2 separate regions of the Homo sapiens genome follow, and region 1 is linked to region 2. Evidence: promoter capture Hi-C in 16 types of primary human blood cells and fetal thymus (Javierre and others, 2016). All regions are on one chromosome and are shown on one strand. Each heading gives the region's core, a stretch centred on a gene start or on the middle of the fragment in contact. The rest is flanking DNA. Distances are from core to core; before and after follow the strand shown.

Region 1 (6,876 bases), core at 1,655-4,154, 1.4 Mb after region 2:
AAATTATTTTACAAATAGAGCTATAAACAATACTGGAAATAAAAACAATAAACTGGCTTTTCTATTTTGTTTCATTCATGTCCAGGTGATGGTCTGTGCAGCGGGTCAGCCTATATGTCCACTCACAACCAATCACAAATTTCTTTGACTTAAGGTCTCCCCTTCAAGGAAAGTATTTACTGAATTCAAAGATGCCATGATCAGCTTGGAGTATGTAATTAGCAACTATATAAAACAACACACTACTACTTTCTATAGCAGATAAAATTAACAAAAATATTCTATATAAAACACCCACTTAGGTTTCTAGAGGTTTGGCAAAGAAAGAAAAAGAGACAGCAATCAGAGAGCTGACTTCTTCTACTGTCACTCTATAATCTATGGAACATTTCAAAAAGGCAGTGAATCTGTGGTAACAAAACAGTCAAACTAACATCTACAGCATTCATCATCTTCAAATTACATGAACATTAACACTTCATACAAAAGTGAAGAGGAGATTGCTTAATTTTGCCATGACTTTCTATCTTCAAATGAATTTCAATCTATCAGATATAAAATGACTTACTGCAATACAGATTTTAACATTTATTCAATGTTGATAATGCTACCAACGTCTCCATACATATGTCTCCATATATATCAACATACCACAATTTGAAAGGAGTACAAGGGAATATCTAATCCTTAAGAAACTGACTGGGGCAGGGCATGGTGGTTCATTCCTGTAATCCCAGCACTTAGGGAGGCCAAGGCAGATGGATCACTTGAGGCCAGGAGTTCGATACCACCCTGGCCAACATGGCAAAATCCTATCTCTACTAAAAATACAAAAATTAGCCAGGTGTGGTGGCGCACACCTGTAGTCCCAGCTACTTGTGGGGCTGAGGCATAAGAATTGCTTGAACCTGGGAGGTGGAGGTTGCAGTGAGCCAAGATTGGGCCACTGCACTCCAACCTGGGCAACAGAGTGAGACCTTGTCTCAAACAAAACAAAACAAAACAAAATTGACTGGAGATAATAGAAAATAATATCAAATGAAAAAGATTAATTGTCTGCCCAGTAATTCCTTCCCTCCCTCCTTCTTTCCATTCTTTAACGACAGGGTTTCACTATGTTGCCTAGGCTGGCTGGAGCGCAGTGACTATTCACAGGCACAGTCACAGCGCATTTTGGCCCCAAACTCCTGGGCTCCAGTGATTCTCCCACTCAGTCTCAAGTGATTGGTTCCTACCACCGTATCAGGCCCTAATATCTTTGTAATTCCCACCCACAGCAGTCCCTCCCTTTCTTTAGTCGTTCAGTTGTTGAGAGCTTTTCATCAAATTATCACAACGGTCCATAACCTTCAATGGTGAAGAACCCATGAATTAACTAAAAGCTCAGACAGAGCCTGTCATTCTACAACCATAATCTGAACCCCTCAGACTAATGCACAGTACCCAGTTCCATCCACTCTAAAGCATCATTATAATCCTACCCACCTGCACCACCCTCTGTATCTTAACTGCAGTTTATCATCATAGCCACTTGCAATGTCCCAATTAGAATTTCGTGTCAAAATCTCTTCAACATTCATTCAGCAGATACCCTCTGTGTCAGTCTCTGTGATTGCAGAGATGAATAAAACCTGCAAGTTGCCCTTGGAGGGGAAGACCAAGGTCTTGGACAGTTCACTGTACACTCTTTTTTCCAGACCAATCGTTAAACATAAATAATCACATGTCCCACTTAAAATTCTCTGTTCAGAAGAGTCTTCTAATTATACTCTTTGTCTTATTTCCAGGTCATTTCTCAAGCTGTGATGGAACAGCACGTATGTTTGTATTGAAAGTATAAAAAAGAAATTAGGGAACATATGCATTTTTCCATTGGCTTGCAAATTTTAAAATTCACAATCAACAATTTTCTTCACAATTACAGTGGGGGTATAATGGTCGGGAGACTGATCAACTGATCAGCCGTAAGATAAATGGTTAGGTAGGGTTCTAAGCAACACTACACTTGATCATCTATAAACTTACCCTAAAGTAAATGACGGCACTATAAATTTAGCAATTGCAGCATTTGTAAAAGTGGCTCTTAAAAGCCAGCTTACTGTGCTACTTCTAAAAAGGCTGTTCCTTTGTGCTTCTTCCTTCTGGTAGCTTTCTAAAGAGTCTCCAATAAAACAGCTGTAATGACTAAAGCAAAAAGTGAAGCACAGTTCACAGCAGTAAAAATAAAGTAGAAAGGCAAGCTTAACTGCCTGTAAAAGCAAAATACTCAGGAACCAGGTTGATTTAGGGCTGGCTTTTGATATGCCAGTTCCTTTCAGTGTGAGCCTGGAGAAGTGAAAGCATTTTCTGCAGACTTGAGAGGCCTTAAGGGGATCTGTCCTGGCTTAGAAGCCAACCCTAGGGCAGGTCCAGATGGAAAGGGCAAGGAGGGGGTCAAAAAACTGGCTTTCTTTGGTTTTCATTGTATTCAGTGTAAGCCCAAACACCAAGTCTCTATTCCCTAACATCTCATTTAATGAAATGTCAGAGCTGGCATCACATCTGGCAACTGAATAATTACCAGTCTCCTCTTCAACTTTTGTTCTCTGATTTTTATATTCAACCCTACAATCAGATCATCTTATACAATCATACGCCAGTTGCTTCCTTTTACAGTAACAACTGAAAGTCTTTTTTCCCCTCTCAGATTACCCTTTCCTAATTCTTCTTCCTGATTTTTCCAACCAGTACCATCTTACACTACCATGTAAACCATTAGAACCCTTACACATTAGGAAAGTCTCAGAAAGTTCCCTGCGATTTGCCAACCTCTGATAACAGAGCCCTCTGTGATGATAACTTTTACCTCAGCTCGACCTCCATCTCCAGATCCTTCTTTGTTCTTCTTTTTGCCTCCTTCCTTTTGCTTCTCTTCACCAGCACCAATCTAAATAAGCAAAAAACGTTTTATATTTTAATCTAATGTGACACCTCCATCCTGTGATGCCCCAGGAAGTGTTGAGAATGTTATTTTAGTATTTGTTATTTAATTTAAAAAAAATGGAAATCTGATATTGAAAGACTGAACAATTTCATCACTGGCAAAGACAGGTTAACAACTTACAATAAAGGCAAGTCTTTAAAAAGTAGGAAGGAGTTACTAACGATGTTTAACTCCTCAAATTTCATTTATTTTATTTTAACTATTCTTGTGACTCTCGCTTCAGGTTTACTTGGACCACATACCAAACATATGGCCACAAGGAAGCACGCAGTTGATTCAGTAAGCATATTTCCAGGGGAAAAAAAAAAAAACTGAATGCAAAGTGTGCCCATGAATTCCACCAGTGCTAACAAAAGCCATGGAAGAAGCAAACATAAGGCCCAATCCCTACCATGTGTAAACCTAGTCTCTCCAGGGAAAGTAAGGCATACATGTGTGAGAAACTCCCGGAGGAGAAAACACAGTAGTAACGCTACGATTAGATGTCAAATAAGCTAGGACTAGCGTTTTAAAGGATGGAATGCATTTCAACAGGTGGATTCTGAGAATACAGGAAATGTGTCCTATGTGTACACATAAGCTTGTTGTCAGAAATGTTAAAATTTAAAGAGAGAAAAAATGACTAAACCAGGCTGATTAATGAAGGATTGTTTTAGAAAGTAATACAAGGTAAGACAGACTAAGGCTCACAGAAGCAAGAACTAAAAGTTACCATAAGGAATACAGACTTCAATTAGAAGCAAGTGAAGTCATAGAAAGTTTTAAAGTAATAAATCCTGTGCCAGGAATGTAAACAGGGATTTTAATTAGTTTGCATGTTTGTGACCTTTAGTTTTCTTAAGTTTTAAGATACAATTCATATACCATACAAGTTACCCATGTAAAGTACACAATTCAATGGTTTTTAGGTATTCACTGTTTTGCAACTATCACTACCATCAATTTTAGAGTATTTTCATCACCCTCAAAAAGAAACCTTGTACCCATTAGCAGTTTACTCCCTGTTGCCTTCATCTCCAGACCCTGGCAACCATTAACCTAGTTTCTGTTTCTATAGATTTGCCTATTCTGGGAATTTCATATAAATAGAATCACACATTATGTGGTCTTTTGTGACAGGCTTCTTTTAGTTAGCATAATAATTTCAAGATCATCAGGTTGTAACATGCATCAATACTTGTCATTGTACCTTTTTATTATCAAATAATATTCCATTGCTTACTTATCCATTTATCAGTTGATGGACATTTTGGCCATTGTCTTTTAAATCCTATAAAATGCGTTACTTGTATAATTAAAAAAAAAACTAATTTTAAAATATGACTCCTAATTTCATGCTGAGCTAAAATCCCCCCTACTCCAGAAGTCTGGATTTAATAAACTTTAAAGGTTCATTTAGATTCAATAGAGCCTTTGTTATACTGCAGAAGTGATGTAACTGATCAAGTATACTGGGTAAAAAGAAAAATTGCGGCTGGGCGCGGTGGCTCATGCCTGTAATCCCAGCACTTTGGGAGGCCGAGGCGGGCAGATCACGAGGTCAGGAGATCGAGACCATCCTGGCTAACACGGTGAAACCCCGTCTCTACTAAAAAATACAAAAAAAATTAGCCGGGCGTGGTGGCGGGTGCCTGTAGTCCCAGCTACTCGGGAGGCTGAGGCAGGAGAATGGCTGGAACCCGGGAGGCGGAGCTTGCAGTGAGCAGAGATCGCGCCACTGCACTCCAGCCTGGGAGACAGAGCAAGACTCCATTTCAACAACAACAACGACAACAAAAAAAAAAAAAAAAAGAAAGAAAAATTGCAGGTCTGTGCAGGTTTAAAATGGAAAGATGATAAAATAAGTTTTATATTTCTGATAAGATTATTTTGGTTTTGACCATTTGCCAAATGAACAGGGGTAGTGAGAGAGAGAGAGAGAGAGAGAGAGAGAGAGAGAGAGAGAGGGAGAGAGAGAGAGGGAATCACCACAAAGGTTTTCTGGTTCTAAATACGGCTCCATTTTACAAACAAGAACACTGGCTCAAAGAAGTAACTTGCCCATTTGTATCATTAAGTAATAGAGCTGGGAAATTACAACAGGTCTCTCTGGAACCCTGAGGCCTATGACCCCTTTTCTACAACACTGGGAAGAGAGTAGGCAACTGTTCTCTATTTCCCTGAGTATATATGGTATGTACATCTACATACAAGTAATCTAAAATCTCAACCCAAAAGTTGGGAAACAGAACCGGATTGTGAAGAGAAGCTACAGAATTACCTTTCTCAGGAATGATCTGTCCCTGACTCACTCAGAACAGCACAGGGGTTATTAGTATTGGCTATAGGATACTGGGTTTGAGGAAGGAAAAAAACGGGGATACTGGGTTTGAGCAAGTTACTGTTCCTACGCCTGCTTTCTCATCTGTATAATGGAGATAATAACAGAACCCACTTCACAGCGTTATTAAGAAGACTGAATGAGGCCGGGCGCGGTGGATCACGCCTGTAATCCAAGAACTTTGGGAGGCCGAGACGGGCGGATCACGAGGTCAGGAGATCGAGACCATCCTGGCTAACACGGTGAAACCCCGTCTCTACTAAAAATACAAAAAATTAGCCAGGCCTGGTGGCTGAGGCAGGAGAATGGCATGAACCCGGGAGGTGGAGCTTGCAGTGAGCCGAGATCGCACCACGGCACTCCAGCCTGAGTGACAGAGCGAGACTCCGTCTCAAAAAAAAGAAGACTGAATGAGTTAATTCATGGAATGCATTAATACAGTGCCAAACTCGTATTTAGTACTCAAAATAAATATTAACTATTGTATAATTATTACAGGAAGGAAAAATTACATATGTGTTAACCATACATATCACGTCCAATTAAGAATAGCACAGGAGAATATTTATGGACATGGAAAGTTGTTGACCACATTCTATTAAGCAAAAAAAAAAAAAAAAAAAAAAGTTACAAAACAGTAAAAATATCATTTTATGTGAAAAAAATCTACGTATAGTCACCATTTATCATCTAGAATTAAATTTACATAGTTAGAATGTGCCCGTATGCAGTTTCTCCATTCAATCTCGAGTGGACAATCAAGAAAAAAATTTGGCTTTTAAGTGAACTGTCCTGTCACAGACTTGGGATAGAGGATCCCTTAGCTGAAGACGTCACCACTTCTCACTTGGACTATTACAACAGCCTTCTGCATGTGGCCTAACCTTCTATCCCAATGCCAGCGTGACTTTTACAAATACAATCTTCCTGCTTAAGATCCTTCATGTATAGAATACAAGTTTCAAACATCCTTGTTGCCTAAGATCCTTCTGATTACTGTTCCTTTAACCCTTCTGGCATATCTCTTGCAAACAACCCGAAAGACAATTCACCTGCGTGCCCCTTTTCACTGCCTTCCCTACCTTTACGTGGGAAGCCCCGTCCTGCCTGTTTACCTGGTGAAATCATTCTTCCAAACTAAATTCTAAAGTGCCTTCCTAAACTTCCTCTTCTGTAATACCACAAGGTTGATCACAAAGCACTAGGGCTGTTTTCCTGTCTCTTACACATCAGCCTGTGAGGCCCTCAAAGTCGGGGAACTGGGCCCTATTCATCTTCCCACATGCACCGCCCAGATCAGTGCCGGGCAAAATGTATACTTAACCACCCAAACTTGGACAAGCTGGGTCAGATCTCGGGCACTCGGTTTTCCTTTCCTTAAAATGGAGCTCTTTACCCCCGCAGGATCTTAGGAGATTGATTAAATAAGGCTCTGCAATGTGTTTCCCGCTTACAGTAAGCCATAAACGCAAGTTTGGAAGCCTCAAGCCTAAGATTCTGATTCTGTCTCCGCGTCTAACTACTGTAGATGTGAGGCTCTGAACAAGTCGCTCACTCAAGGTCTGTTTCCTCA
Region 2 (6,470 bases), core at 223-2,722:
AGAGAAAAGGCTGGGTGTCTGTTCTATTTTCCCCCTCTGGTTTGCTATTAACATTAAACTAAAACTGCTCAAATATATAACCCATCCTAAATCCACAGACTACGCATACTTAGATATGGAGACCGCTGGAAAACAGACATTTGCCAAATTAAATGTCTAAGTTAAATTTCTTTCCCCTAATTTCAACTCCACCCTACTTCTCCAAAATCCCTGGCCTTTATGTCTCAAAGCAAGCACATTTACAGTTCCTGGGTCATCAAAACTATGGTCACCTACTTAACTCAGATATTGTTTTTGCAGGTCTGACGGCGTGTTGGATTTAAGCAAAGCAACCAACTCTCAGTGGTAAACGAAGCACAGCCAGTGTATTGGTTAATTCTGCTTTCCCCCCCCCCCCCGGGGTCATTTCACTAATTAATAGCAGATTCTAGTACAGGGGTCACGAGGCGGGTACAGAGGCTCACGCCTGTAATCCCAGCACTGTGGGAAGCCGAGGCGGGTGGATCACCCGAGTTCAGGAGTTCGAGACCAGCCTGGCCAACAGGGTGAAACCCCGTCTCTACTAAAAATACAAAATATAGTCGGCTGTGGTGGTGCACGCCTGTAGTTCCAGCTACTCGGGAGGCTGAGGCAGGAGAATCGCTTGAACCCGGGAGGCGGAGATCGCGCCACTGCACTCCAGCCTGGGCGACAGAGCGAGACTCCGTCTCAAAATAAAATAAAACAATAAAATGAAATTCATGTGTCTGTTTTAGTTGTTGCTGTTAGATGATAGGAGAAACCTCGGAAGCACAAAACGAAAAATGTGATTTCTAAATACAGTATTTGTGAAATTCAACTCTCAAGGAAGGCTATGCCAGTCGCTTAAATCAAACCCAAATCGAACGCAGTTACTTATTGAATGTTAACATCCACCAAGTCGCCTCTCCTTTCACCCTCCAGAATCACTAATTCCCACCGAGCCCTGAGTGGCTTTCTGACCCAGGCTCCAGAGCATCCATTATCCGAAAATCAGAAAGGGAGAGTCACTAATTTCTCTTTTTAACCTCCACTTTAAACACTATGCCCACAGCAAAGAGTTCTGATCTCTCAAACTCCCGGACTCTGTTCCTATGACGTTCCGCACGGCCCTGAGCCCCTCAAGGACGAATCGCTCCTCTTTTCCCGCTGTGGTTCTGCGGCAAGTCTGTAAGCCCTGACGCCGCAGGTCGAGCTCTGAGAGCCTCTCTGCCGCGGAGGCTCTAAGAGAACGCGCGAGTGCGCAAAGGGCACCTGGCTCAAGGCGGAGAAACCACGCCCCGGAACCAGCCTCCCAGCTCCCTGAGCCCGACGGCGCGGCTTCCTCCCGCTGCGTCGGCCTCCTGACCCTGGCGCACCTCGGTCCGGGCGCCAAAGCGGTGCCTCGCGAAAGCTGCACAGCCTGCGACGTCCCCAGTTACCTTCCGCAGCCCAGGTCCGGCCAAGGAGACAATACCGTTGCCATGGGAACGGAACGCTACGGGTTCTGCTGGGAGCGCCTGTAGCCATGGCGACGCGGGGCACTTCCGGTTCGGAGAGTCCCTGTTGTCTGGCGCCTACAGCAGCCCTTGCCTTACCCTCCGCTTTCCCTTCCCCGCAGGTTAGACGCGCCCGGCCTCCGGCTCGCCCCAAAACTGGCCTCTGCATATTGTATCTCACGAGACCTTACCCCTCGGAGGTGAAGGCGTAGGAAGAGAAGATACATTCCGTCCAAGGATGGAAGGGAGCGCCGGGCCCCACGGCCCTACTTATTTAAAGCTGCGACGTGTGCGGGCTGTATTCGGCGACGATCCTGGCCACGGTGCACCCCCACAGCTCCTCGGGAGTTTTGTTTTTATGGACCCCAGAGGAAAGGCTTAGATATGGCTGTTGACTGTGCTGGCACCGTCTGTGTTACCCAGTAAGATTGGAGCTAGGCATGGTTAGGAAAGCTGATTGCAGGAAGAGAGTAGGGTAAGAAATCGACTACTAGATCTGCTAATGGTTAGCTGTTCATTATTTATTTAGCACTTAGCCCTAAATAATGCAGCCATATCTTACCCTTTCGTTGGCATGGAATACAGTGTGTGTAATACACACAAGGTGCAGAGGCAATTGTGGCCATACCCAAAGAAACAGCGCCAGCTCTTGCAACGCTATGTTGAAGGATGTTATTATGAACCCTATCATAGACTAGGCCTATGGCAAGTCAAGTTGGAGTGAATGTGTCCCAGTTGTTTTCAGAAAAGAGCAGACTAGGTAGAGAGACAAGGAGAACATTGAGAATGTGAAAGATGGTGTTTACGTTTGGTGTTTGTTATTTCCAGCTCTAGGCTGGAAGTTTAATTGCCATTGATCCAAGACTGCCAAGAAAGCCTTTTTGGAGTTAGGTTGGAGGAGTTATTTAAATGAGTTTGCTTGAATATCTCTTAAGTAAAACCTGTATGGTCTGTTAACTCAAGATTTAAATCTGTACTTTCGAGCTCCATAGTCACAATTTTGGAAAGATTCCCCCACTTTATTCTTTTTCCTAAGAAAACTCTCAGCATGGAACAATGATGACAGCAATGAACCTGATTTCAGAATGTCAAGGTTCTGGTTTTGACTCTGTAGCCTGGGCCGAGTCACGGCCAGTGGGTCCCAATTTTCTTGCCTATACGGTGAAAGTTTTTGTACCACTTGCTTTCTGAAGCGCCTTCTGGTTCCAGGTTTCTGTAAGGGGTAAACGATTTTTGTGACTCTATGAACAGTATTTAACATGTATGGGAGTAAAAAGGAAGAACCTGTTTCCTGTTCTCCAACATTTATTTCTTTTACCCCTTGTTAAGTTGGTCATCAAATTGAAAGGTTTTAATGTTCTTTCATTCTAGGAAATGGCTGTGAGATTGTTTCTAAGTATATTAAAGGTAATGTCTCTTTTCTAAACCTTTGCTTTTGCTGATAATTGTGGAGAGAAGAACCAGAACAGGCACTGAATTCCCATTCCTAAAGCCAACGCTCTAATTCGGCCTCCATTTCATTAGCTCTGACCGGAAGCATGTTGCCTGCATCTGTAAAAATTATAAATCAAAATAAAATAACTTTGGCGACTATTTTTTTTCTTTTTTTGAGACAGAGTCTCACTCTGTGGCCCAGGTTGGAGTGCAGTGGTGTGATCTTGGCTCAGTGCAACCTCCGCCTCCCGGGTTCAAGCAATTCTGCTGCCTCAGCCTCCCGAGTAGCTGGGATTACAGATGTGTGCCACTACTGTCTGTCTAGTTTTTGTATTTTTAGTAGAGACAGGGTTTCACTGTGTTGGCCAGGCTAGTCTCGAACTCCTGACCTCAGGTGATCTGCCTGCCTCAGCCTCCCAAAGTGCCGGGATTACAGGTGTGAGCCACCGTCCAGCCAGAACTTTGAGGACTCTTGAAGTTTTTTGGTATTTCTTTCCTTGTCATGTTAACCCTGTCCCCCAAATGTAAGCTTTAGTTGTAGTATATACACTTTTAGGTTTGTTCACTAACTCTAGAATGGCATCCCACTAATCTAAGTGGATAGTGCGTTTCCACCGTGTGTATTCACATTCCCTCCCCTGATCCGGAGGTAGAGGTGGCAAGCATTGCTATTGCAGAAATTGCATAGAGGAAGCAGTATGGGGGGTTTTTCTAGGCTCTAACAACCCCAAATCAAATGTGATTATCTCCAAGCTATTCTTATCCCAGGAACTGTGAAATTTAAGGCAAGGAAATCCAAATAAACTTTCGCTTGGAACACATTTTTATGGCCTCTCAAGAGAGGGTTAGATGCCTTGCTTCTGAGCCCTCGCAGTACCCTGTCCACAATCTCATCATGACTCTCACATTGTACTGGCACTTCTGTTTATTTGCAAGTTTCTCCAATCTCCATACATCTATCCATCCACCCAGACAAAAATATTTGTGGAATACCTACTATGTGCCAGATAATGTTCTAAGCAGTAGGAAAGCAAAAGTGAACAAATAAGATAATGATTTTGCTTTCCAGGAATTTATATTCTACTAGATGAAGAAAAACAGAGCTGCTAGTAAACAGTATGGTGTCTCTGCAAGTTACAAAAAGGCAGAAGGCTTAGGGAGTATGCAGTGACAGTGTATGAATTTGGAAAAAGCCTTTTCCTCCAGCCAGACTCAGACCCCTGCTAAGGAGTACAGCTTTGGGAACAGAGAGTGGGCTGGATTTCAGGACTCACTGACTCCCTTAGCCAGAAGAGTCACCTTAAGAAAAAGTGGGCTGGGCACAGTGGCTCACGCCTGTAATCCCAGCACTTTGGGAGGCCAAGGCGGGTGGATCACCAGATCAGGATTTCGAGACCAGCCTGGCCAACATGGCAAAACCCCATCTCTACTAAAAGTAAAAAATTAGCTGGGTGTGGTGGCGGGTGCCTGTAATCTCAGCTACTTGGGAGGCTGAGGCAGGAGAATTGCTTGAACGTGGGAGGCAGAGGTTGCAGTGAGCCGAGATTGTTCCATTGCACTCCAGCCTGGGTGACAAGAGCAAGAATCCATCTTAAAAAAAAAAAAAAAGAAAAAAGAAAAAGAAAACATGATAAACAGTTATGGAGAAAAATAAAACCAGGTAAGGGATTTAGAAGGTGATGTGGCCATGGCGGGAGGGGTGTGCCATCTTACATAGTGTAGTTAAACAGGGCCTCTCTGACAAGATGACATTGAGAAGATACCTCAAATCGTGCAACAAATTGTGCAAATATTTAGGAGAAGAACATTCTAAGATGTTAACAGCAAGTGCAAAAGCCCTGAGGCAGGAACAAGTTTAATGGGGTCAAAGAACAGCCAAGGGTAGTAAGAATGAGGAGGAAAGAGACAAAAGACTGTGTCAGTAAAGTGGTGGGGCATCAGGTCATGGAGGGCCTTATAGGCAATTCATCCGTCTAAATATTCATCTACCCACTCAGTGAATACAGAATACCTGCTAGGTAGCAGGCCCTGATTGGCCAGCTATGAGCTCCTCGTGAGCAGGAGTTGTTATCATTGAGCCTTTAGCATTCAGCACAGTGCCTGGGATATATCAGTGTTAAAAAAGAAAAACAAAACAAAAAAAACACATAAACTACAAATGACCTTTAGGAACTCCATTAGTAGAGATTCTCCCTGTGTGTATCAGTTTCCTATTGTTGCTGTAATGTCACCACAAACTCAGTGGCTTAACAAACCACAACTTTATTATTGTATAATTCTGGAGGTTGAAAGTCTGAAATGGGTGTCACTGGGCTAAAGACAAGCTGTCTGCAAGGGTGGCTCCTTCTGGGAGCTCAAGGAGAAAATTTTTTCTTACCTTTTCCAGCCTCTAGAGCCTGGCTGCATTCCTTGATTTGTTCTCTTCATCTTCAAAGCCAGCAGCAATGCAGCATCTTCAAATCTCTGACCCTTCTTTCCATTTTTAAAAGACCCCTCTTGTTATACTGGGCCCACCTGGATAATCTTATTTAAAGGTCAGCAGATTAGCAGGCTTAATTCTATCAGCAACCTTAATTCCTCCTTGTCATGTAACTTATTCACAGGTTAGATTCACAGCTAACATATTCACAGGTTCTGAGGATTAGGACATGGATGTCTTTGGGAGGACTTATTCTGCCTACTAGAGTGTGTAACTTAAATGCATGGTTTTAAAAACATATGGAGGTGACACATAAGGAGCCCTCTTCTCCTGGCTGTTAGCAGCTTGCATCATTTGACTGTGTCCTGCTTCTTTCCATCCCTTACTGATATGGTTTGGCTGTGTCCCCACCCAAATCTCATCTTGAATTCCCACATGTTGTGGGGGGAACGTGGTGGGAGATAATTGAATCATGAGGGTGGGTCTTTCCTATGCTGTTCTTGTGATAGTGGATAAGTCTTACAAGATCTGATGGTTTTAAAAACGGGAGTTTCCCTGCACAAGCTCTCTCTTTGCCTGCTGCCATCCATTTAAGACGTGACTTGCTCCTCCTTGCCTTCTACCATGACTGAGAGGCCTCACTAGCCACGTGGAACTATAAGTCCATGAAACCTTTCTTTTGTAAATTGCCCAGTCTTGGGTATGTTTTTATCAGCAGCATGAAAACGGACTAATACTCTTATGTATCCTCCACTTTATAATCTGGTACATCCAGTTACGGTTCTTGAATATGCTGTTTCTTCCCATTTTAGAGCCTGCTTTATAGTAAGTATGCAGGAATGTCTCTGCTTTCCTCCTACTCGCCTCGTGGGGGCTTTACTTCTCAAAGGAGCCTTTCCATCTGCTGGAACCTATGTTGATTGTTCCCTTGCCCAGCTCCTATGGCTGAGTCCTTGTTCTTTTGTTTCTCAAATATGTCACACGCTCCCATAATGCTTGACAAATCTCTGCCCTGATCTGGTGAATAGAAAATTGCTACTCTTGTGAAAGCCCTAGTTCTTTGGTCTGTGGCTTTTTCCAGCTCACTCTTGGCCTTGCAGTCTGCTGCTTAACTTTGCTCA

The links. Contacts are between HindIII fragments. The CHiCAGO score rates a contact against its expected background, and 5 or more counts as called.
Region 1: a fragment that was not itself captured here is called in contact with the fragment with the promoter of TTC23L in region 2 in 1 of 17 cell types (non-activated CD4 T cells); the score reaches 6.2 in non-activated CD4 T cells.

What each region holds. Positions count from the first base shown.
Region 1 is chr5:33,441,374-33,448,249 of GRCh38, reverse strand. It overlaps TARS1 (threonyl-tRNA synthetase 1), which reads right to left. Exons shown (of 19, transcript NM_152295.5): 2 at 2,846-2,926. Among named protein-coding and RNA genes, the nearest start is that of TARS1, 3.8 kb to the right of the region's middle. RefSeq lists enhancers at 1-479, 6,177-6,763, 6,778-6,837. The HindIII fragment of the contact is 1,323 bases long and covers 2,243-3,565 here.
Region 2 is chr5:34,834,166-34,840,635 of GRCh38, reverse strand. TTC23L (tetratricopeptide repeat domain 23 like) reads right to left here and starts at 1,472. Exons shown (of 11, transcript NM_144725.4): 1 at 1,377-1,472. It overlaps TTC23L-AS1 (TTC23L antisense RNA 1), which reads left to right and starts at 1,304. Exons shown (of 2, transcript NR_183259.1): 1 at 1,304-1,453; 2 at 1,619-3,089. RefSeq lists an enhancer at 1,073-1,182. The HindIII fragment of the contact is 6,317 bases long and covers 1-3,461 here.